7 separate regions of the Homo sapiens genome follow, and all the other regions are linked to region 6. The links are contacts of gene promoters, found by promoter capture Hi-C in blood cells and fetal thymus (Javierre and others, 2016). All regions are on one chromosome and are shown on one strand. Each heading gives the region's core, a stretch centred on a gene start or on the middle of the fragment in contact. The rest is flanking DNA. Distances are from core to core; before and after follow the strand shown. Region 1 has its middle 270 kb from the start of LINC02015. Region 2 has its middle 270 kb from the start of LINC01014. Region 3 overlaps LINC02015 (long intergenic non-protein coding RNA 2015). Region 4 has its middle 190 kb from the start of LINC02015. Region 5 overlaps LOC105374235 (a long non-coding RNA gene). Region 6 holds the start of TBL1XR1 (TBL1X/Y related 1). Region 7 has its middle 7.4 kb from the start of LINC02015.

The links. Contacts are between HindIII fragments. The CHiCAGO score rates a contact against its expected background, and 5 or more counts as called.
Region 1: a fragment that was not itself captured here is called in contact with the fragment with the promoter of TBL1XR1 in region 6 in 1 of 17 cell types (fetal thymus); the score reaches 5.5 in fetal thymus.
Region 2: a fragment that was not itself captured here is called in contact with the fragment with the promoter of TBL1XR1 in region 6 in 1 of 17 cell types (total CD4 T cells); the score reaches 6.5 in total CD4 T cells.
Region 3: a fragment that was not itself captured here is called in contact with the fragment with the promoter of TBL1XR1 in region 6 in 1 of 17 cell types (M1 macrophages); the score reaches 5.4 in M1 macrophages.
Region 4: a contact is called between a fragment that was not itself captured here and the fragment with the promoter of TBL1XR1 in region 6, in 4 of 17 cell types (monocytes, M1 macrophages, naive CD4 T cells and 1 more). The highest score is 11.2, in monocytes.
Region 5: a fragment that was not itself captured here is called in contact with the fragment with the promoter of TBL1XR1 in region 6 in 1 of 17 cell types (endothelial precursors); the score reaches 5.1 in endothelial precursors.
Region 7: a fragment that was not itself captured here is called in contact with the fragment with the promoter of TBL1XR1 in region 6 in 1 of 17 cell types (total B cells); the score reaches 6.3 in total B cells.

What each region holds. Positions count from the first base shown.
Region 1 is chr3:178,088,900-178,091,653 of GRCh38, reverse strand. No RefSeq gene overlaps it. Among named protein-coding and RNA genes, the nearest start is that of LINC02015, 270 kb to the right of the region's middle. The HindIII fragment of the contact is 3,765 bases long and covers 1-2,754 here.
Region 2 is chr3:178,146,830-178,149,678 of GRCh38, reverse strand. No RefSeq gene overlaps it. Among named protein-coding and RNA genes, the nearest start is that of LINC01014, 270 kb to the left of the region's middle. The HindIII fragment of the contact is 2,764 bases long and covers 73-2,836 here.
Region 3 is chr3:177,824,580-177,827,533 of GRCh38, reverse strand. The region is part of intron 1 of LINC02015 (long intergenic non-protein coding RNA 2015); the gene reads right to left. Among named protein-coding and RNA genes, the nearest start is that of LINC02015, 9.2 kb to the right of the region's middle. RefSeq lists enhancers at 593-1,093, 1,094-1,594. The HindIII fragment of the contact is 1,730 bases long and covers 441-2,170 here.
Region 4 is chr3:178,007,777-178,010,628 of GRCh38, reverse strand. It overlaps the pseudogene RNU6-1120P. Among named protein-coding and RNA genes, the nearest start is that of LINC02015, 190 kb to the right of the region's middle. The HindIII fragment of the contact is 2,131 bases long and covers 198-2,328 here.
Region 5 is chr3:178,172,322-178,175,043 of GRCh38, reverse strand. The region is part of intron 10 of LOC105374235 (a long non-coding RNA gene); the gene reads left to right. Among named protein-coding and RNA genes, the nearest start is that of LINC01014, 250 kb to the left of the region's middle. The HindIII fragment of the contact is 1,016 bases long and covers 819-1,834 here.
Region 6 is chr3:177,196,097-177,199,094 of GRCh38, reverse strand. TBL1XR1 (TBL1X/Y related 1) reads left to right here and starts at 1,613. Exons shown (of 16, transcript NM_024665.7): 1 at 1,613-1,974. RefSeq lists silencers at 1,022-1,401, 1,642-1,831, 1,942-2,041, 2,522-2,571 and enhancers at 1,019-1,526, 1,527-2,036. The HindIII fragment of the contact is 6,955 bases long and covers 1-2,998 here.
Region 7 is chr3:177,808,088-177,810,787 of GRCh38, reverse strand. No RefSeq gene overlaps it. Among named protein-coding and RNA genes, the nearest start is that of LINC02015, 7.4 kb to the left of the region's middle. The HindIII fragment of the contact is 2,602 bases long and covers 1-2,583 here.

The DNA of each region.
Region 1 (2,754 bases), core at 98-2,597, 890 kb before region 6:
TATTAAGTTCTTGTAGTGTGTTTTTCAGCTCTGTCAGGTTGGTTGTGTTCTTCTTCAGGCTGGCTATTTTGTCTGTCAGCTCCCACAATGTTTTATGATTTTTACCTTCCTTGTATTGGGTTACAACATGATCCTTTAGCTCAGTGAAGTTCGATTTTATCTATATTCTGAATTCTACTTATGTCATTTCAGCCATCTCAGCCTCAGCCCAGTTCTGAACCCAAATGACTGATGCAGTCATTTGGAGGAAAGCGAGCACTCTGGCTTTTGAGTTTTCAGCATTCTTGCATTGATTCTTTCTCATCTTTGTAGGCTTATCTACCTTCAATCTTTGAGATTGCTTACCTTTCGATTTTTATTTTTTCTTTTACGGTCTGGCCACTTTTCCACAGGGCTGCTGTGGTTTGCTGGAGGTCCACTCCAGTCCCTAGTCACCTCAGATTTTCCAGTACCTGGAGGGATCACCAGTGAAGGCTGTGAGACAGCAAAGATGGCAGCCTGCCCCTTTCTCTGGGAGCTCCATCCTAGGGAGCTATGGACCTGTTGCCAGCCTGAACACACCTGTAGGAGGTGGCTGGAGACCTTAGTTAGGTGATCTCACTCAGTCAGCCAGAATGGGATTGGGAACCTGCTTAAAGAAGCAGTCTGGGCACACTTTCACAGAGTAGCTGTGCTGTACTGGAGTACAACTTCCACCCCCAGTCAGCTTGGGCTCTCCAAAGCCTGGAGGCTGGAATGGCTAAGTCACCCAAACAGGAAAGATTGTGACCCATTCATCCCTCTGAGAACTCTGTCCTAGGAAGTTTTCAAATCTCTTTTGGCCAGAGAACATCAGCAGGGGTGGCTAAGGGGTCCTAGTTCAGGGTGGGGGTCCCACTCAGTGAGGAGAAACATATTGGGGAACTACTTAAAGAAGCAGTTTGGCTACATTTTGGTAGAGCAGCTGTGCTATGTTGGGAGATCCCTTCCACCCACAGGCTGGAATGGCTGAGTTTTCCAAATAGTTAAGATGGCGTCCTGCTCCTCCCCACCCCTTGATTTCTTCCCCAAGTAGGTGCAACACTGCTCCTGGTAGCTGGCTGGAATTCCAAGACTGTGGGCTTTATCTTGTGAGATGTTGTGGAAATGAGGCCCGCAGATCATCACTGCTCAGCCCACTGAATTCAGCCTCTTTCGTAGTGGTACGTACAGAGGTCTAACCTCCCACTTTGCTGGAGTTGCTGTTACTTTTGCTGGGAAGCCCAGAGCAGGAATATGTAAAGCACCTAGGTCTCTCTGTGTGCACAAATGGCTGATCTGCCAAGACTCCACCTAGCTGTGTATATCATACTGAAGGCCCTGGTGGAGTGAGTTCACAAGAGGATCTCCTGACCCAAGGGTTGCAAGCGTCCATGGGAGAAGTGTGGTTTTCCAGGATCACATGTTCACTTACCACTTCCCTGGCAGGGGAGGTTCCCTTGGCTCCATGTCACTCCTGGGTGGGCCATCCTTTTGCCTTGCCTTTCTGTTCTCTGTGGGTCAAGTTGTTTCCTTGATTAGTCCCAATACAAGTACCTGGATGTTTCAGTTGAAGGTGCTGTATTTACTCCACCCTCTCATTCCTCTCTGTGAGAGCCACATACCCTAGCTGCTTGTAGTCAGCCATCTTGGCCACTGAGGGACAAGTTTCTAGAATTTTTAAAAACACATTTTGAAACACACACACACACTTCTGTTTGCTACATTGATGACTTGGGTATCAGTTTTTCTGTTTGGTTGAATATGGTGCTTTTTTATTATATGGATTTCCCCAAATGCTTGCTTCTTCTTGACTGACTATTGGATGTTTTGACCTAACCCTCATTATTCCTTTACAGCACAATGCTGCAGTTCATTTCACAGCTGAGAAAACCAGGAGCCAGACAGAATAAGGGACAGCCAAATTTATTGAGGTATTTAGTGCTAAAACAGTTAATAAATTCCATGTATCTGCTGATTCCTTGCCTAGTGCCTTTTCTAAAATGTAGCATGTTATTAATGGGAAGTCTTAGAAAATGTTTTAGCTTATTTTTAAATCTGACCTCTTTTAACATATCATATCCTATTTCTAGTCACATTTCTTTAGCTGAAAGACTTTGACATGCCTTGTGTCCTTGGCAGAAAACTCAGAAAAGCCCACTTATTCTTGTATTTTATTTGGAATAACTTCTAAAAGAATCCAGTACCTGGACATGTTCAACAAATAAAAATCTAGAACATTATAAAACTTTAGAAAAAAATCAAACCCAATTTCTTATTTTGTCAATTCAACAGGCAATGTGTGTGTGCTTACTAAATATTCATAAATGCTGAGATGTATTAAAAGTACATTTATACAAAACATCTAGGAAAATGAAGCCAAAACAGACTAATTCACTGGAAAAACCTCATGGGCCTACTCAACAGTGATATCAGGACTAGAGCTCATGTTTCCTGACTCAAAGTCCAATGTTCAACATCCATTTGATTTACAAGGGTGCTATTCTGCACAGCCTATAAAATATAGGCTGGACCAGCCTACTCACAGTATGTGCTCAACTGCATTCATTATCTTCCTTTGTAGTTTATAGAAAAAAGACAGTGCTAGTCATGAAATGTATAATGCACTTGTACCTTTTAAAGCTGAAGACGTTTATTTAGTTTGCTTTAAATTTGTAATCACAAAATAAATAGCAACATATTGAGGCAATGAGCTAGCTCCAGTGGCCTTGACTGATTTGCAACTCTCTCTCTTCC
Region 2 (2,849 bases), core at 205-2,704, 950 kb before region 6:
GTTTTGTAAAGTTTGCAAGAGTAAGGTAGCTCTACCATATTGATTAAGATTGTCTAATAACTTCTTTAAGCTTCCTTTAAGTGCACGGTCTTAGAAGGCCCATGGACAAAGCTACAGACAAGTTAAGTTGGGGATATATTTAACTTAGGTTTGGGGGACATAGTGGTGATTTCCATGAAAAGTTCTGGTGGAGGGATAACTTTGGTGACTATTGCTACTCACTGTACCACACTATAAAAGTGCAGGGTCAGTGGGTGCATTACACCATGAAAGATATTTACCAACTTCTGGCACCAGATGATGACACTGGAGGGGAATCAAAGTATGAAATACATGGAAACAGAGATAAGTCTGCGGAAAATTCTTCCAGTATTTAGATGAGTTAAAATGATTCCTATCAATGCTTAGAAAAAACAGAAGTTCCTTTTTAGTAGAAGGATGTTTGATAATGCAACATAGACAAATCTAAATGCACCATACAATTGCTTTTCCTTTTTTGATAGAAATTAAGCACAATAGAATTTGTCAAAATCTCTTTGTTTGTGAGGCATAAGTCTGTAACTGTACCACAAACAGGGAGGACATCTGTGTGTGAAGTCATGTTTTATGCATCTCAATTATCTACGATAAAACCAAAATTTGATCAACCTTGTCAAAAAGACTGAGTTATCTTTATCTTCTCTCTATAAAAATTACTACAAAATTATTGTCCTATAAAGAGTCAGTGTACAGAAATACAGACAAAAGTATTATAGAAGTATTTCAAGCAATTAGCTAGTGAAAACATATATTTTTCTAATTTTGTGAGATTTAAGGGATTTTTCAGCATTTAAAAATTGTAATTATTATTTCTCTTTTCAGTCTAAATATTCACTCTTGAACCTAATTTTGTTTTGTAACTGTGCAATTTTTTAAAAAATAGCCCCTCTCTTCCAAAGCGTTAAACGTTAGGCTTATGAAACCTAAATCCACTCACGCTTCTGTTTGAAGACAGAGATAACAAAGATGAAATTCAAGGACATTATGTCTTTCTGAGAACCACATATATTTGGATATATTAAATAAGCACATGCCAGACACTATAGAAAGGTAATTGTCAGGTAGACAAAGGGGTAATCCCTTCACTTTCCATCTTCTTCACATGGACTGGTGTAGATAACCTCTAGACCTTCTGGTCTACTTTTCCCTTACAGACTTTCCTTAGCTCTTATGTAAATTTCTCATGTTCAGATTAGCCACTGTTGTTGTGACCCAGAAAATTATCATAGCCATGTCACAATATTTAAAATGTTCTCGCTATTTCAAGTGAGGCATACTTAACATACATTGTGGGTTTTGTTTTATTTATTTATTTATTTATTTTTGTTTGGAAAGAATCTTTTAAAGCATCCTTGGTTATAAGTTAGCCAAAGCCTTATTTGCCACTTCATATCTCACAAATGCACCAAAATTTTTTGTCTTTCAAATTCTATTCTTAAAAGTGTGATGAAAGTCTGTGAAGAAAATGGCTGTAAAATGGTGCATATTGCTACTCCTGATGAGATTTTAAAGCCTAGTTTCTTCTCAAAGAAGATCTTAAAGTCAATACTGAAATGGAAAATCTAAACCAGATGCTATTCTGCCTATGTTCTATCAGGGAAATTGGCAAATTATGATTGTCAAATTCTTATTACTGGAAGTGCTAAAAAGAACATAATTTAATGTTCAGATCCCTTGATGCAATTTGAGAAAGGTTCTATGGACATTACAACAATTGGATCCAAGAATATTAACCTTAAAACACCTGGGTGTTGGTTCATTTTCTAAGTGCCACTAGGTATCTATACAAAATATTGTTATGTTTTCAAATTATTAACTGTGTTTCGAAAGACTGTGTGTGTATACACACACACATATACATATACACCCACAATTTGTGTATATATACATATACTATATATACACACTTATGTATGTATACATATGTGTGAAACAATATACACAACTTATATGTGTGTGTATATATACATACTTGTGTGTGTGTATATATATATACACATTGAAACAATAATATAAATTGTGAATTGATAATACTGTAAGGAGTGCTGTACACTTAAACAATGAGAAACAAAAGTCTCAGCATCTAGGGACAGAAAGGTAAAGTTCTTAAAGAATGTGAGTTTTGTTTTGTGCTGGATCTCATGAGACATGATGGGCAATGATTATTCAGAGAGCATAATTTCAAAGATTAAAGTAGTACAAATAAACAAATTTTATTAATTTTTTTAAAAATTTATTATCTGGGGAGGGATTGTAAAATGGAAATGCCAAAAACAGATGCAAAGAACTGTTCAAGGATAAGTCAATTTGGCCTCCTTATATGTTAATCCAGGTTTGTGTCATGGCTTCCCAATGATGTGCTGGTAAACATTTAGCAAGCAGCTCTCTGGGGAAGAAAAAACTAAATAAAACAAACAAACAAAAACCCCTTCTTTGTAGTGTTGCCAATTCCCTTGGTATAAATACAACCACATAACTGATGTCAAGATACCAGCTTATACAGAGTTGGGGAGATCTGTGCAGCTGCAGATGATTGTATAGAATTTCCACCATACAAATACAATAAATGTAAATAATCTCAAGAACAAAAAGTAAAATGTAAAATAAGTAGGAATTACTGAGTTTTGACTATTATCTATCTTTTTTATATGATTTATCTAATTGTATGGCTATATAATTTAATTTTAATAATGATTGTGTTTGACAATCAGCTCACAAAATTTAAAGCTGGTTTTTACGGGCCAGTATAAGCCAGTTCCAACACCACTCTCCTTCAGGCCACATTAAGGATTAAGCTTTATCCTAAATGC
Region 3 (2,954 bases), core at 56-2,555, 630 kb before region 6:
TGGAAAATCACCAGCTACACTTGAAGGCCGGATCTACATCTTGTTCATTTTTTTGTCACTCCAGCATCCGGCACATAATAAACACTCAATAAATATATGCTGGACGAGTGACTGGTTTCATAAATTACTCTATGGCTATAGACTTTAAGTTTATAATGGATAAAGACTGTACTTACCATCTTATATAGGGCTAACATTGAACAATACAGACATGATAAAGTGAATGAACTACTTAGAATTTTAAGAAAAATGGAAAGAAGGGTTTATGTGTTGCTGAAGTCATATGCTAGGAGACACATAAAAATAAAAGTTCTGCCAACTACAAAAATTTATTTTAAATCCTATGAATCCTGTTTCATAAGGAACCAGCTACTTCATAATTCATCAACTAGAGATTTAACTTTTGTTATTTCTTCAGTGACATAAAAGGATATTAAGCTTTCTCATATTCCCTATTTTAAATCTCCATCACCTTAAATATATAGTGACTCCCAGGTATAATAGGTATTGGAAAAATAAAAGACAATTATCTGGGAGATTACTTAAAAGATTTCTGTTCTTCTGTTTGACTGTAAAGGGCCAATTATGATGCCATTCACAGGAGATTTCACCATAAAAAGTGTGAATGAGGTGAGGGGAGACAGTCCCAACCAGCCTGGAACGGAAATCCAGGAATACCTGGCTTTGGCTTTAGAAGAAACTGCTGTCCATTATGGTGTTTCTATTCATCTGGTGATTTACATGGTAGATGAGGAATCTTCTAAAAAATTGCAAGATGTATTCCCAGTTGGGGATTAGATCTATGCGGGAACGAATAGGGGACTGGGAATGGCATGGAGAGAAAGCAACCAAGGTGCCAAGAGAATTTGGCTAAATCTCTGTGAGAAAGTGTTCTAGAGAGGACGGAGGTAGGCCTGACAAGCCAGTCTCAACCATAAGGCTGAGCAGGAGGAGCAAGAGGGGTCAGGAACACCAGCTGGTCCTGGTGCTGCCTCAGTGCCCCTGCCCCACGAGTGTCGTAGGCATGAGCTACGCCGTGCTCCCCAGTACCACCGAGGGGTCCACTTAACCGGGTGTAACTGCACAGCCAGGAAGCCCTTCCCTTCTCACTTCCCAAAGGACTGCCAGCTTGTGAGCCGTGAGCACTGAGCGCTTTGAAGCTCAGCTGCGAGGTCAGGTCTGCTCTTCAGCAAGGTGGAGGCTGGGGAAGCAGCAAGGGCACTGGTGAGGGGAGCCCTCAACTGGATCTGTGAAGGCACATAAAGTTACCACTTGGGGCCCACAGAAGCATCAGGGATGAACTTTGCAGGGATAGACATGCCTGTGTGAATGAGCTGAGCTTACAGCCAACAAAATGTTCTTTTATCGACTGCAAAATTCAGGTTTAACTCTAAATGTGAAATCACCTGAGCCCATATGCTGGGGAAATCTAAACACACTCAATTTATAAATTATCCTGTAAGAGAAAATAGAAATAAAATTATAAATTACTGTATATTTTTAGGCCAGGTATGGTGGCTCATGCCTGTAATCCCAGTGCTTTGAGAGTAAAAGTAGAGGGATCACTTGAGGCCAGGAGCTCAAGACCAGCCTGGGCAAAACAGTGAGACCCCATATCTTAAAAGAAAAAAAAAATTAGCTGGGGGTGGTGGCACATGCCTAGAGTCCCAGCTCCTCAGGAGGCTGAGGCAGGAAGATCGCTGGAGCCCAGGAGTTTGAGGCTGCTGTGAGCTGTGATCGTACTGCACTCCAGCCTGGGCGACAGAGCGAGACTCTGTCTCTAAAATAAATAATGAATATTAATAATTTTTTTTTTTTGAGACGGAGTATCTCTCTGTCACCCAGGCTGGAGTGCATTGGTGCAATCTTGGCTCACTGCAACCACCACCTCCCAGGTTCAAGCCATTCTCCTGCCTCAGCCTCCTGAGTAGCTGGGACTACAGGCATGTGCCCCCAGGCCTGGCTAATTTTTTGTATTTTTAGTAGAGATGGGGTTTCACCGTGTTAGCCAGGATGGTCTCGATCTCCTGACCTCGTGATCTCCCCGCCTCGGCCTCCCAAAGTGCTGGGATTACAGGTGTGAGCCACCGTGCCAGGACTAATAAATCTTTTTAAGATATAAATCACTATATGTTTTTGACTGGCATCATGCTTTATGGTTTCGTAAGCTTCTCATTTCTTTCTTACAACCACTCTGGCAAAAACAGTACAGGTATTATCCTCATCTAATAGCTGAGGAAACTGAGGCTCAGAGAGGCCAAGAGATTCGACGTCGATCCTACAGCTCATGTAAGGTGGGGGGCTAGTTGGGGTAAAGTTGAGACTGTCATTCCAATGGGGAAGTGCAGAGATGAACTCCTCCTAGCACAGATCACTCTCCAACGTCAATTGTGATGTTCTTTTCTTCTCTTTTGTTTTTTCTTCTCTTCTCCTTCTCCTATTTCTCCTCCTCCTTCTCTCCCCTGACAGACGCCAGGGATGTCCTGCCAGGAGCATAGTGATTCCTTGGAGGAGAAGATGGAGGAGAGAGATACAGAGGGGGAAGGATGACAAAAGGCAGAGAACAGAACAGGACTGGCAGCAGCGCTCCCCACCTCCTCTCCTCACTCTGTGCTCTTTAAAAACACTCCCTGATTCATTTTCTTTTTAAAATCTCATTTCACCAGAACGTGTAAACACAATTCACCAAATGCAGTCATGTACTTATTGAATAAAGAAAAGCCGTGGCAGCTTTCCTGGGGAAAAAAAAAAAAAAAAAAAAAAACACAGGGCAACAACCCATTCTCTGGCCAGCAGTAACAAGGACTTGGAAGTGTAAGACTTTTCAGTATTAAGTGGGCTTTTGGCATTTTTTCCTGTCCCCCACCCCCCTTTTCAGAATCTATTCCCATGTCTTCTCTATGTTCCTGCAGAAGCCAGTCCACCAAAACAATATACATGGCCTGGCAGGCAGC
Region 4 (2,852 bases), core at 14-2,513, 810 kb before region 6:
GCAACATCTTAGAAACAATGTAAATGCCCATTTATAAGAGAGTGATTGAATAAACTATGGTAGATCTACACAGTGCACATTATTTCCTTTAACAGAATAAGGAAGTTGTTTGTTGAATAATGTGGAGCAATTTCTAGGATATTGTGAAGCACAGTGTTGCGTTAGGCAATTAATAATGTTTGTGGTAGGTTTAAGCTTCTTTAAAATGTATAATTTGTTGTGATTACTTTTCTCACTCTTAGTAAATATTCTTTCTTTAAAACTAATTTCATCTTGATAATTATGTTTTCTTTTTCTTAAAAAAAGAAGTTTCCCTGATTGATATAAACTCTGGCTACACAAAATCTGCACTTTCTTCAGAACTGTGGACTATGGTATGTAAATACATTATGTACTGTCTTCTATTTGATTTTTCTAATAGGTTTTCCACCAAAATTACTCTAACATATTTTTCTAAAGCAGCAGTTCTCAAACCTAGCTCAGCATCAGAATCAGCTATGGACCTTTACAAAAACAGAGATTCCTGGGCAATATGTAAGTCTGGGGTGTAGAAATCACTATCTTCCAAAAGCCCTGAAGCTGATTCTGAGCATCATCCAAGTTTGAAATCTCTGCTGAGGGTAGGTTTGAAAATAGGGAGAGAATAAAATTATTATTACTCTGCATTTTTAAATAAATTTGTAATTATTATCAATAATTTCTTACTTTCTTAAATTCTTCATGATTTGCTCAAGAGTGTCTCATTCTGAAATTGAAAGGACTTTAAGGAAAACTAAACCATAGGGAAGAATTCTACTTGTCTCGTGAAACACAGTCTAGCAGGATAACATCTGGACTTGGAGCAATTCTGCAGAAATCAATTCCTGACTCTGACGTAACCATGGCCTGCAACTCAGCAAGGTTGTTAATGTTGGTACCTGTTTTCTCTTCTGTAAAATGTATATAGTTTGGCCTTTTTTCACATAATTGTGGGAACCAATAAAGATCCACAATGTAAAATGTTCTTACAGACTGCTAAGGGTTATAGTTCTGAACATAACTCTCATTATGTATTTAAAGTCTAATTGTGTCTCCATTTACTGTAATTTTTGAAGTCTTAATTCTGTATTTAGATGATATTATTTTATATGTATTAACTATCTATCTTCTATCTATCTATATATTTATCTATCCATCTATTCGTCTATCTATGCATCCATCTATGCCACTATTTTCTCTGTGAATTAACAGAAGACAAATAACTTCAGTTATTTGGGAAGATTATGCACTTTAAAAAAAGTTAATTTTAAGTTCTGGAATACATGTGCAGGACATGCAGGTTTGTTACATAGGTAACGTGTGCCATGGTGGTTTGCTGCACCTATCAACCCATCATCTAGGTATTAAGCCCCGCATGCATCAACTATTTATCCTGAAGCTCTCCCTTCCCCGGCCCCTCCGACAGGCCTCAGTGTATGTTGTTCCACTCTCTGTGTCCATGTGTTTTCATTATTTAGCTCCTACTTATAATTAAGAACATAGGGTGTTTAGTTTTCTGTTCCTGGGTTAGTTTGCTAAGGATAATGGCTTCCAGCTCTATACATGTCCCTGCAAAGGACATGATCTCGTTCCCTTTTATGGCTGCATAATATTCCATGGTGTGTATGTACCACACTTTCTTTATCCAGTCTATCATTGATGGGCATTTGGGTCGATTGCATGTCTTTGCTATTATGAATAGTGCTTCAGTGAACTTATGTCTGCATGTATCTTTATAATGGAATGATTTATATATATACCCAGTAATGGGATTGCTGGGTCAAATGGTACAGCATGATGCAAATCACAGAGGATTTGAAGTGGAGTCATACGCAAAAATCTAAGACACTTTGGAAATCACTCTCCTGAGGAAGAACATGAATTCCATAATTCTTTAAAAGGCATACGAAAATTATATTCCATATGATCTAATATAAACATTTACATATGTTAAACATATATCTTTCATAAAATCTGGCAGAATCAAATACAGTTCACAAACAGTTATCATATAATTGCCTTATTTTCTGATATATATTGTGTGCTATCATTTCAGAAAACATACTAAGTAAAATTATATTTATCTTCGATAAATACATCCTGTATATTTTCAAAAGAGCGATAGAAGTCACCACAATAATTTTAAAACTACATATGGTTGAGAAAAATGCCAAAGGGGGAGGAAATTAATTTTGATTGGGGTAGTATGTTTCCTGAGTTGGAACAGAATCTTGAATTGCTGGTGGCATTCACACCTCTCCATTACTGCTGTTAGAAATTCTTTATCTACTTCTGGAGTCTATAAAAGCTTAGTGTATCAAAGTGATGCCAAATTTATATGTAACTCCTAATACAATGTTATGAAAATGATTCATTAATAAGCAATACTCAGACTTCTATGATGAAGCATGGAGTCCACATCAGTCTATAGAAGGCTGTTCTCAATCTTAAATTTTAAGTATCTTAAAAGTAAAATCAGGACTATAGTACCTCTACACATTTTGAGCTGAGAACACTATGTTAATTTACATATCATCCAACTAGATTCTATATTCTAGGTCTCTGGACAGGTGGCCTTTATTCTTTTTAAACTGAGAACAGCTAGTATGTCCTGATTTAGTTCACATAACCCCTCTCTCCCACAATAACACACATACAGAAATAAAATACTTAAAATAATATATTTCCCTATTATTACAATTTTTACCTATTTTATTTTCTTCTATTCTATGTTTTTAAAAAATATTGGTCACCAAATTAGATTGATTTAATGTCCCACCAATGTGCATCTGAAAAAATTGCCTTATCAGTGATTTCAAAAATAATTTGGGGTC
Region 5 (2,722 bases), core at 77-2,576, 980 kb before region 6:
AGGTTAGTCATTACAATTGTCAGGATAATTGTGAGTAGAATTCCTTGAAATCATTGTTCTTTGCCAAAGGACAGAGGGAGCTAGTAGATTAGAACACACTATCTCTGATATTATAACCTTTGCTTAGGGAACTACCTACAATTCAAACTTTATTTTTACTTTCAAGTTCCTTCTATAACTCCTAATATCCAAGAATTGTCTTTGTTTGTTTTGATTATTTCCTGTAACTGACTAATTACCCTCACCATTTGCTATTGCCTACTGGATATAAACACATAAGCCCATGGTTAGGATAAATCATTAAAAGTCACAGAAACTGCCTTTCTTTGGTCTGGGTTTATATTCACTTGTAGATAAAACGAGGAGGCTTAAGTACATTTTCAAGGTCCTTTCTAGATCTGCAAATTCATGATGATATGGAACCAATGCCTCTAATGCTAACAATAAATTCATGGAAGTGTTCTGTCATAAATTCCTTTTTAGTGCTATTGGATTTATTGTTAGGTAACTCATATTCAGCATGAATAAGGACACCCTGCCTTGAGACCTCTGTAAATAACTCATCCAACCACTGCAGGGTTCATCCAACTTTACAGGATGTTTTCTGCAGGAATGTTCAATAAATAGTTACTGATATATCCTTGAGTACATGAATGTTTTTGAAACCCCGATGCTTCTTTCTATTTCACAGTGGGAACAATCAGGATGGACTCTTGAAATTGCTTTTACAGTTTTATGACTTGTTTGGAACTCTTCATTCCACTCTCAAAGAAAAATGGGCATATTCAAGTTCACCTAAGATGAACTCCTGTAAAGCTTTCCACTCAAATGATTGAGTGATGTTAAGCAGTATCATGCACAAGAAATGGACTTTGGCAAGATATTTGTATTGATTGCCCTTGGAGTGTAGAAAAGGGTTAAGGCAATGAGAGAATAAAGAAGAGTTGGATTACTTGGTCACTGATAATTGCTCCAGCCCACAGAGCAAGGCTGATGCAGCAAATACAACAGACAGTATTAACCAGTTGTGAAACCAAGATAGGGATAATTTATATATTTTATTTAGTTTTGCACAGGACAGTAAAAGACTAATGTGCAGTAAAGCTGATCTGAATAATGGTACATATTAGATATTTTTTTAAAAGGTATTACTTTATTTCTTTAGGCTTAAACAGTAACTGAAATAATAAGAAGACATAATAATTTACAATTATACAAATGTTTCTAAAAACTAGTATGTCACAACAAGAGAGGATTTTGATAATTTTAGCTTAAATAAGAGCTAATGTCAGAGTACACTTCTGATAGAAAGATGTAAAGAATCAAAGATCCAAACAGTAATTGATGATCCCCTAAGATTAGTATAAAGATGCTGCAGTGGACATTACTAACAAGGAATTCTAGTTCTGAATAGGTTGCTAACTATGTGAACTTAGGAAATTCTTATAACTTCTGTGCATCTCAGTTCTTCTAAAAAGAGTAATAGAAATTGGACTAGACCAATGGATTTCAAACTGTAGTCCATAAATTCCTTGGAGATCCTGGAGCTATCATAAAGTGACTGTGAATTTACCAAAATACTGAGCATTGCACATTGTACTGAGCATTGTAAAGAAATAGAATATTTAAATGCCTATGAACTACAATGTATCAAACGCACCTACTTACTATTGTAATGAATAAAATATGTAACAATTCCTTATTAGCTAGATGACAGTGAAAAAAGTTAATCATTCTGTGTTTCAGTTTCCTCATCTGTAAAATGAAGATGTAATTAACAATACCTTCTTCATCACAGTGTTATGACTATTAAATAGTATAATTAAGGAAAGCTTTTGGAAGAGCACTTTGGACACAAACAACATTGAAAAAGATTAGACATTACAATTTTCATGATTACTATTATTAGAATTCTTTTTTTTTTAAAGACAGAGTCTCCCTCTGTCACCCAGTCTGGAGTGCGGTGGCATGATATCGGCTCACTGCTACCTCCGCCTCCCAGGTTCAAGCAATTCTCCTGCCTCAGCCTCCTCAGTAGCTGGGACTACAGGCACCCACCACCAGCCCCGGCTAATTTTTGTATTTTTAGTAGAGATGGGCTTTCACCATATTGGCCAGGCTGGTCTCAAACTCCTGACCTTGTGATCCGCCCACCTCAGCCTCCCAGTGCTGGGACTACAGGCGTGAGCCACCACACCCGGCCTAGAATTCTTAAAAGCACTGATGAATAATAGCATCTTACCACTATGCACTTTTTCAGTGAATGAATATTATAATGATTATGAGTGCCCATAAGGCATATTTGAACATAGAAAGATCATTGTTCTGGTTATTTACTGCTGAAAAACAAACTACTCCAAAATTTATCAGCTTAAAACAATTCTCTTATATTGCTCATGATTTTGTTGGATTGAGTATTCAGGAAGACCTCAGCTGGGTGGTATATCTGATCCATGGACCATCCACTGGAACAGCTAGGGCTGGAAGCTCAGCATCCAATTCATGGAAGGGGCTACACAAGGATGTGAATTCCAGGAGGCATGGTTTGTTGAAGCGGGAACATTTGTGGAAACTAGCTCTCACAGTCATTATTTGCGTGGAAGTTGAGGATGACTAGTGAGTTAATTCCTTATACCCCTTTCAGCTCTTGGATTCCATATATCTAATTGGTACTTGCTTAATGAGGAGGAGAATGCTTTTGTTAATACCACTGCCTCTACCA
Region 6 (2,998 bases), core at 364-2,863:
CCACTCCCTTTCCTCTGATGGTTTTCCTGCTCCCTGCCCCACTAGGTCATTCAGGAAAGGCCTCTGGCAGCTCCCCCAAGCAAGGGCTCAGGGGGGAAAGAGACATTGACCTTGGCCAAGAAAGCACCTGTCTAATTACTGAACTTATTAGGCCACCAGGAGTCCAGACTGGTGCAAGTTACGAGTAGTGTGTGTGTGTGTGTGTGTGTGTGTGTGTGTGTGTGTGTGTCGCAAAACTTCAGGTTTCTGATATTGAGAGGAAATGATGGTTGCTTTAAAGTGATCACTACATCTATTTTCAAATATTCTGATGAAAGTAGGAAAACAGAACCCTTCACCTTTAAGAAAGCTGCAAACATTATTTTGCTTTGAAGGCAGTAATAAGCGAAATAACAAAAAGGTTTCAAGTCGTATCTTAATGTAAAAGGGTGGCTGCTTCTCCAGTCCTGAGCTTATACAAAGCTCTAAAAAGCACCCTACCCCATCTTTCTGAAAGTCTTAGAAAGATTACCACCCCATTTGCTTTAAAACCTGTGAGGTGCCTCCCTTCTTTAAAAACAACCCTCCCTCAACCATACTGCCACATTATCACTCATCTAAGTTATACTTTATAAACCGCCTTGCTGTGCTTCACACATGCAAAAAGTACACAAAGTGGATAAACTTCTACTGTGGATGCCACTGTGCAGGTATATATTTAGTAAACATTTAGTTACATTATTTTATTTTTGTGAAATAAGAACTGATCGAGCAAACCTTTCAAACAGACCCACCAGATGATAAATACCACCATATGCTTGATTCACAGTACATTTGGGCATAAATACTTCAATTACAGCTTTGTGTTTAGTATCAAAAACCTTTTCTTGTGTGCGTGTTTTCTCTCCAGATCCCGTGCTCTGGATCACATTTTGAAAGTCGCTTATTACAGATAAAGCACCTTTCCAGGTACGCTTCGGAGAACCATATGTATTTACGCACACAAAGGTGTTCACAGAGATTTTCACAAACAAATGTCCATATGATGCCGCGCCGCACTCCCCCACATGCCCGCCGCGTGTGCGCCCAGCCCCCAACGCCGCCGGGCCGCCCCCCGGACACGCGGGAGCCCGCGGCGTCCTTGGGGAAACTTCGCCGGCGGCTCCACCCCGGCCACCGCGCGGGCCTCCCCGCCCCCACCCGTCTCGGGCCCAGCGGCCCACACCCGAGCACACCCAGGCCGGCCCGCGGCGGTGGGGGCGGGGCGGGCGGCCCGGGGCCCCGAGGCGCCTTCGAGTGCCCGCGGGGCTCGCCTGATTTTTAAAAGAATGCGCCGCACAGCCCAGCCCCCAGTGCCGCCAGAGCGGGCCGGGAAGGAGAGGAGCGCGGCCGCTGGAGCCCCCCCGCCGCGCCGCCGCCGCCTCCCGGCGTCCGCGGCGCCCCTCCCCCGCCGGCCCCTCCCCCGCGCGCCCGCCCGCCCGCTCGCCCGCCCGCCCGGCGCAGGCCGCTCGGGTTTGTTTTGCTGCGCGGCCGCCGCCGCCGCCGCCGCCGCGGGCCTCGCGAGCTCATTTGTGCCTGGCTGGTCCCCATTCCTCTCTCCCCAGTGTTGAGTGTCTGAGCCGTTGGCTGCTCCGAACCGTTTGGCTCTTTCCCTTAGTAACAGCTTTTACCTTCTGCCTCAATTCCTCTCCCCGCTCGCGCCCTTCCCCCGCGCGCCGCCTCCCCCCGCCGCCGGCCGCGTGCGCCCCCGCCCCTCCCCCCGCGGCGGGAGCACCTCCGCTCGCCACCTGGGGACCCGCGCCGCGCTCCCCGCCCCCGCCCGCCCGGCGCCCATCCCCCGCGCCCTCCGCTCGCTGGGGTTATAATTGCCTCTCACCCCCCGGAGGGGTTATTTTGGGGGTGGTTGGAGGCGGTGGCGGCGGCGGCGAGGAGGGGAATTTCCTTGTGCCTCCATTCCCGGGAGGGGGGAGCGGCGTTGGAGGCCACCGTTTCCAGGTAAGCGCTGGGGGCCGGACCCTGGAGTGGGGGCGGCCGGGGGCCTGGGCGGGGGGCGCGGGCCAGAGGCGGCCGGGGGCGCTGGGCCGCGGGGGGATGGGCGCGAGTGGAACATGCATTTTTCAACTTGGCCCTTGGGGGAACTGGGCTTGCGTGGGGGAAGGGAAGGCAGGGAGGGCACTTGGGGCGCCCCCATCCCCCCGTTTTCCTCTCTCAGGTTTCTTTGAAATGCTCACGTGCCTGCCCACCCCCCTACCCTTTCCCGGTCTCGGGGGATCCTCACCCTAATTATGTTGTCCCCGAAAATGTGCACCTCGGCCTTCTCCCCCTCTTCCTCCCTTCGTGCATTTACACCCCCTTTTTGTGCGTGTGTGTTTGGGGGGGGAGGCTTTCAGGAAAGGATTTGCAGCAAATTGAATCAAGGAGCCATCATGAGGCCGACTCCTTTATAGCCTATTTTTAGCAGAGGAGAAGGAGCTTTTCGGTGCATGCTATTTTGTGAAACCTCGGGCGGCAATGGAAATCTCCCCTCCCCGGGCGCGTCCCCGGCCCGGGCGCGGCGACCCCGGCCGGCGTGCTGGGGGCTGCGGGCGGCTGTTGGGGCCGCGCGTCCGGGGCGGGGGCGCCGGCCGGGGGAGGGGCGCGCGGCAGCCGGGCCTTGCTCCGGGACGTGTTTATTTGTAACTTAGTGCTTTTTATCGTCTTAAGGAGGTATTTGGTGGAGGCTCTTTGAAGTTGGGTTCAGGAGTGTAGAATTGGCAAAGTTATTGCCAGCTTCCTGGTAAGTTTTGGGTGGCACAGAGTCACGTTATTTTCTGACAGTGTAAAGGCCACGTTGTGAGGGTGGTTTCTCGGTAACTTCCTCTTTGCAACCGATTTAATTTTTTGAACAGAAGCAGACTTTTATTTAAGTGGAATATTAATCTTAAATGGCAGCTCGAGGGAAGCCATGCATGTGTTAACGTGTTCAGTATTTTTGGAAGTTCTTAATTTGCTGAAACAGGCATCACTTCGCAGTGGCAAC
Region 7 (2,700 bases), core at 33-2,532, 610 kb before region 6:
ATTGAGTACCCCCCCAACAGTATTTGTTGACACTTCTCTTGAGCTATTTTCTTTCTACTTCTCCGTGTAACTCATAGCCTATTAAGAAAAATAAATTTGAGCCAAAATCCTCAATTTAACAAAACAGGGAAAGAATTAAAATTATATCGTTCAAAACAACAATGATCAAGCAACAAAGAACCCTCAGTCAGAGTTCAGAGGATGTTTATGCACTAAGAGGAAACGCTGTCTTTGGCATGAAGAGGGGTTATTGAAATGATCTAATTTCAGACAAGGTACATAACTGAAGTTGTAGTCCAAGTTTATTGTAGTTCAGTATCTTTTTAATTAGGTAATTTTAAGTTTATAGTTTTGAATCATCAGGGAAAAAAATTGCAACATAGTCTGTTTAGAGTCAAGGCATGCTGCTGACACATTCAAAAAGTCCCGAACCTTCATAAATAAACACTGCCAATGTTTATTTCAAAACATCTGAGAACAAGGAAAGAAGAGATTCTCTGAATGCTTCAGATTGGAACTGTTTGTGCTGAGTCATCTTTATCTGTAGATCCCTTCTGAGATACAGTGGAGTGTGTTCAGTACCTACCAAATGCACAGATACGAATAATTATGGAAGGAGAATCTCATTACAAAACTTTTTTTCTACCTAAAACACTGCCAAAAAAATCTGGAAAAATAATTTTCTCTATAACTAGGTAAAATGGTTTTTATTTTCAGGGCTCTTAGAAATAACTTTTTCGAAGAGAAAACTTATATAAATTGAATCTGGAATCTTGTTTCTTCATTTCTCTTACATTTGGTGGGGAGGTTTTTGTTTGTTTGTTTTTTGTTTGTTTGTTTTAGACTTACCATGACTTTATAAATTGAGTCTATAAGGCTAGCTTCTGAGGTTATTTCTCTCTACCTCGTAGAAACTGATTCAGTGGTTTTCACCAAGTAAATGGTGGGGATATTTTGACTTCACTGGCCAAACCACTGGACAATACCTTAGCCTTGCTAAAGGGAAAATAGCAAACAATTTTCTGTTAGTATGTGTTATTCCACAGGAAAAGATTATGAAAGCTGTAACTTTTGTCATTCTATAGCTAGTGTACAGTCTCACAAATATTATTAGTATTACCTCTCAGAGTTTAATTAAATATTATGTTCATGTCCAGGAATAAACAGAAAATAACATTGTACACATCCTGAAATTTTCCTTTTAATAAGCTGTCCAAAGGTATATGCATTGTTCTCAGAGGTCGGGACTTGAAAGCAGCTTATGTGATTTTCTCTCATTTCCTTCATGCAATTCAGCATTCCAGAAACATTTATTATCAATTAGTATTGAGAGGTGACAGCGTGCTGTCAGCCCTCGCAGCCCTCGCTCGCTCTGGGCACCTCCTCGGCCTTGGCGCCCACTCTGGTCGCACTTGAGGAGCCCTTCAGCCTGCCGCTGCACTGTGGGAGCCCCTTTCTGGACTGGCCAAGGCCTGAGCCGGCTCCCTCAGCTTGCCGGGAGGTGTGGAGGGAGAGGCGTGGGTGGGAACCAGGCTGCCCAGGGCACTTGCGGGCCAGCCGAGTTCCGGGTGGGCATGGGCTCCGCGGGCCCCACACTCAGAGTGGCCGGCCAATCCCGCTGGCCCCGGGCAGTGAGGGGCTTAGCACCTGGGCCAGCAGCTGCTGTGCTCGATTTCTCACCGGGCCTTAGCCGCCTCCCCACAAGCAGGGCTAGGGACCCGCAGCCTGCCATGCCTGAGTCTCTCCCTCCTCCCCCCGCCCCCGCCCCCACCCCCGTGCCCAGAGGAGCACCGCCCCCTGCTCCACGGTGCCGGGTCCCATCGACCGCCCAAGGGCTGAGGAGTGCGGGTGCATGGCTGGCAGGCAGCTCCACCTGCAGCCCCGGTGCAAGATCCACTGGGTGAGGCCAGCTGGGCTCCTGAGTCTAGTGGGGACTTGGAGAACCTTTGTGTCTAGCTAAGGGATTGTGAGTGCACCAATCAGCACTCTGCCTAGCTCAAGGTTTGTCACACCAATCAGCACCCTGTGTCTAGCTCAGGGTTTGTGGATGCACCAGTTGGCACTCTATCTAGCTAATCTGGTGGGCACTTGGAGAATCTTTATGTCTAGCTAAGGGATTGTGAATGCACCAGTTGGCACTCTGTGTCTAGCTCAAGGTTTGTAAATGCACCAATCAGTGCTCTGTGTCTAGCTAATCTGGTGGGGACTTGGAGAATCTTTGTGTCTAGCTAAGGGATTGTGAATGCACCAATTGGCACTCTGTATCTAGCTCAAGGTTTGTAAATGCACCAATCAGCACTCTGTCTAGCTTAGGGTTTGTAAATACGCCAATCGGCACTCTGTATCTAGCTCATCTAGTGGGGAGGTGGAGAACTTTTGTGTCTAGCTCATGGATTGTAAACACACCAATCAGCACCCTGTCAAAATGGACCAATCAGCTCTCTGTAAAACAGACCAATTGGCTCTCTGTAAAATGGACCAATCAGCAGTATGTGGGTGAGGCCGGATAAGAGAATAAAAGCAGGCTGCCTGAGCCAGCAGTGGCAACCCTAGGGCCCTGTCCCATTCCAGACTGTGGAAGCTTTGTTATTCGTTCTTTGCAATAAATCTTGCTACTGCTCAGTCGTTGGGTCCACACTGCCTTTACAAGCTGTAACACTCACCATGAAGGTCTGCAGCTTCACTCCTGAAGCCAGCGAG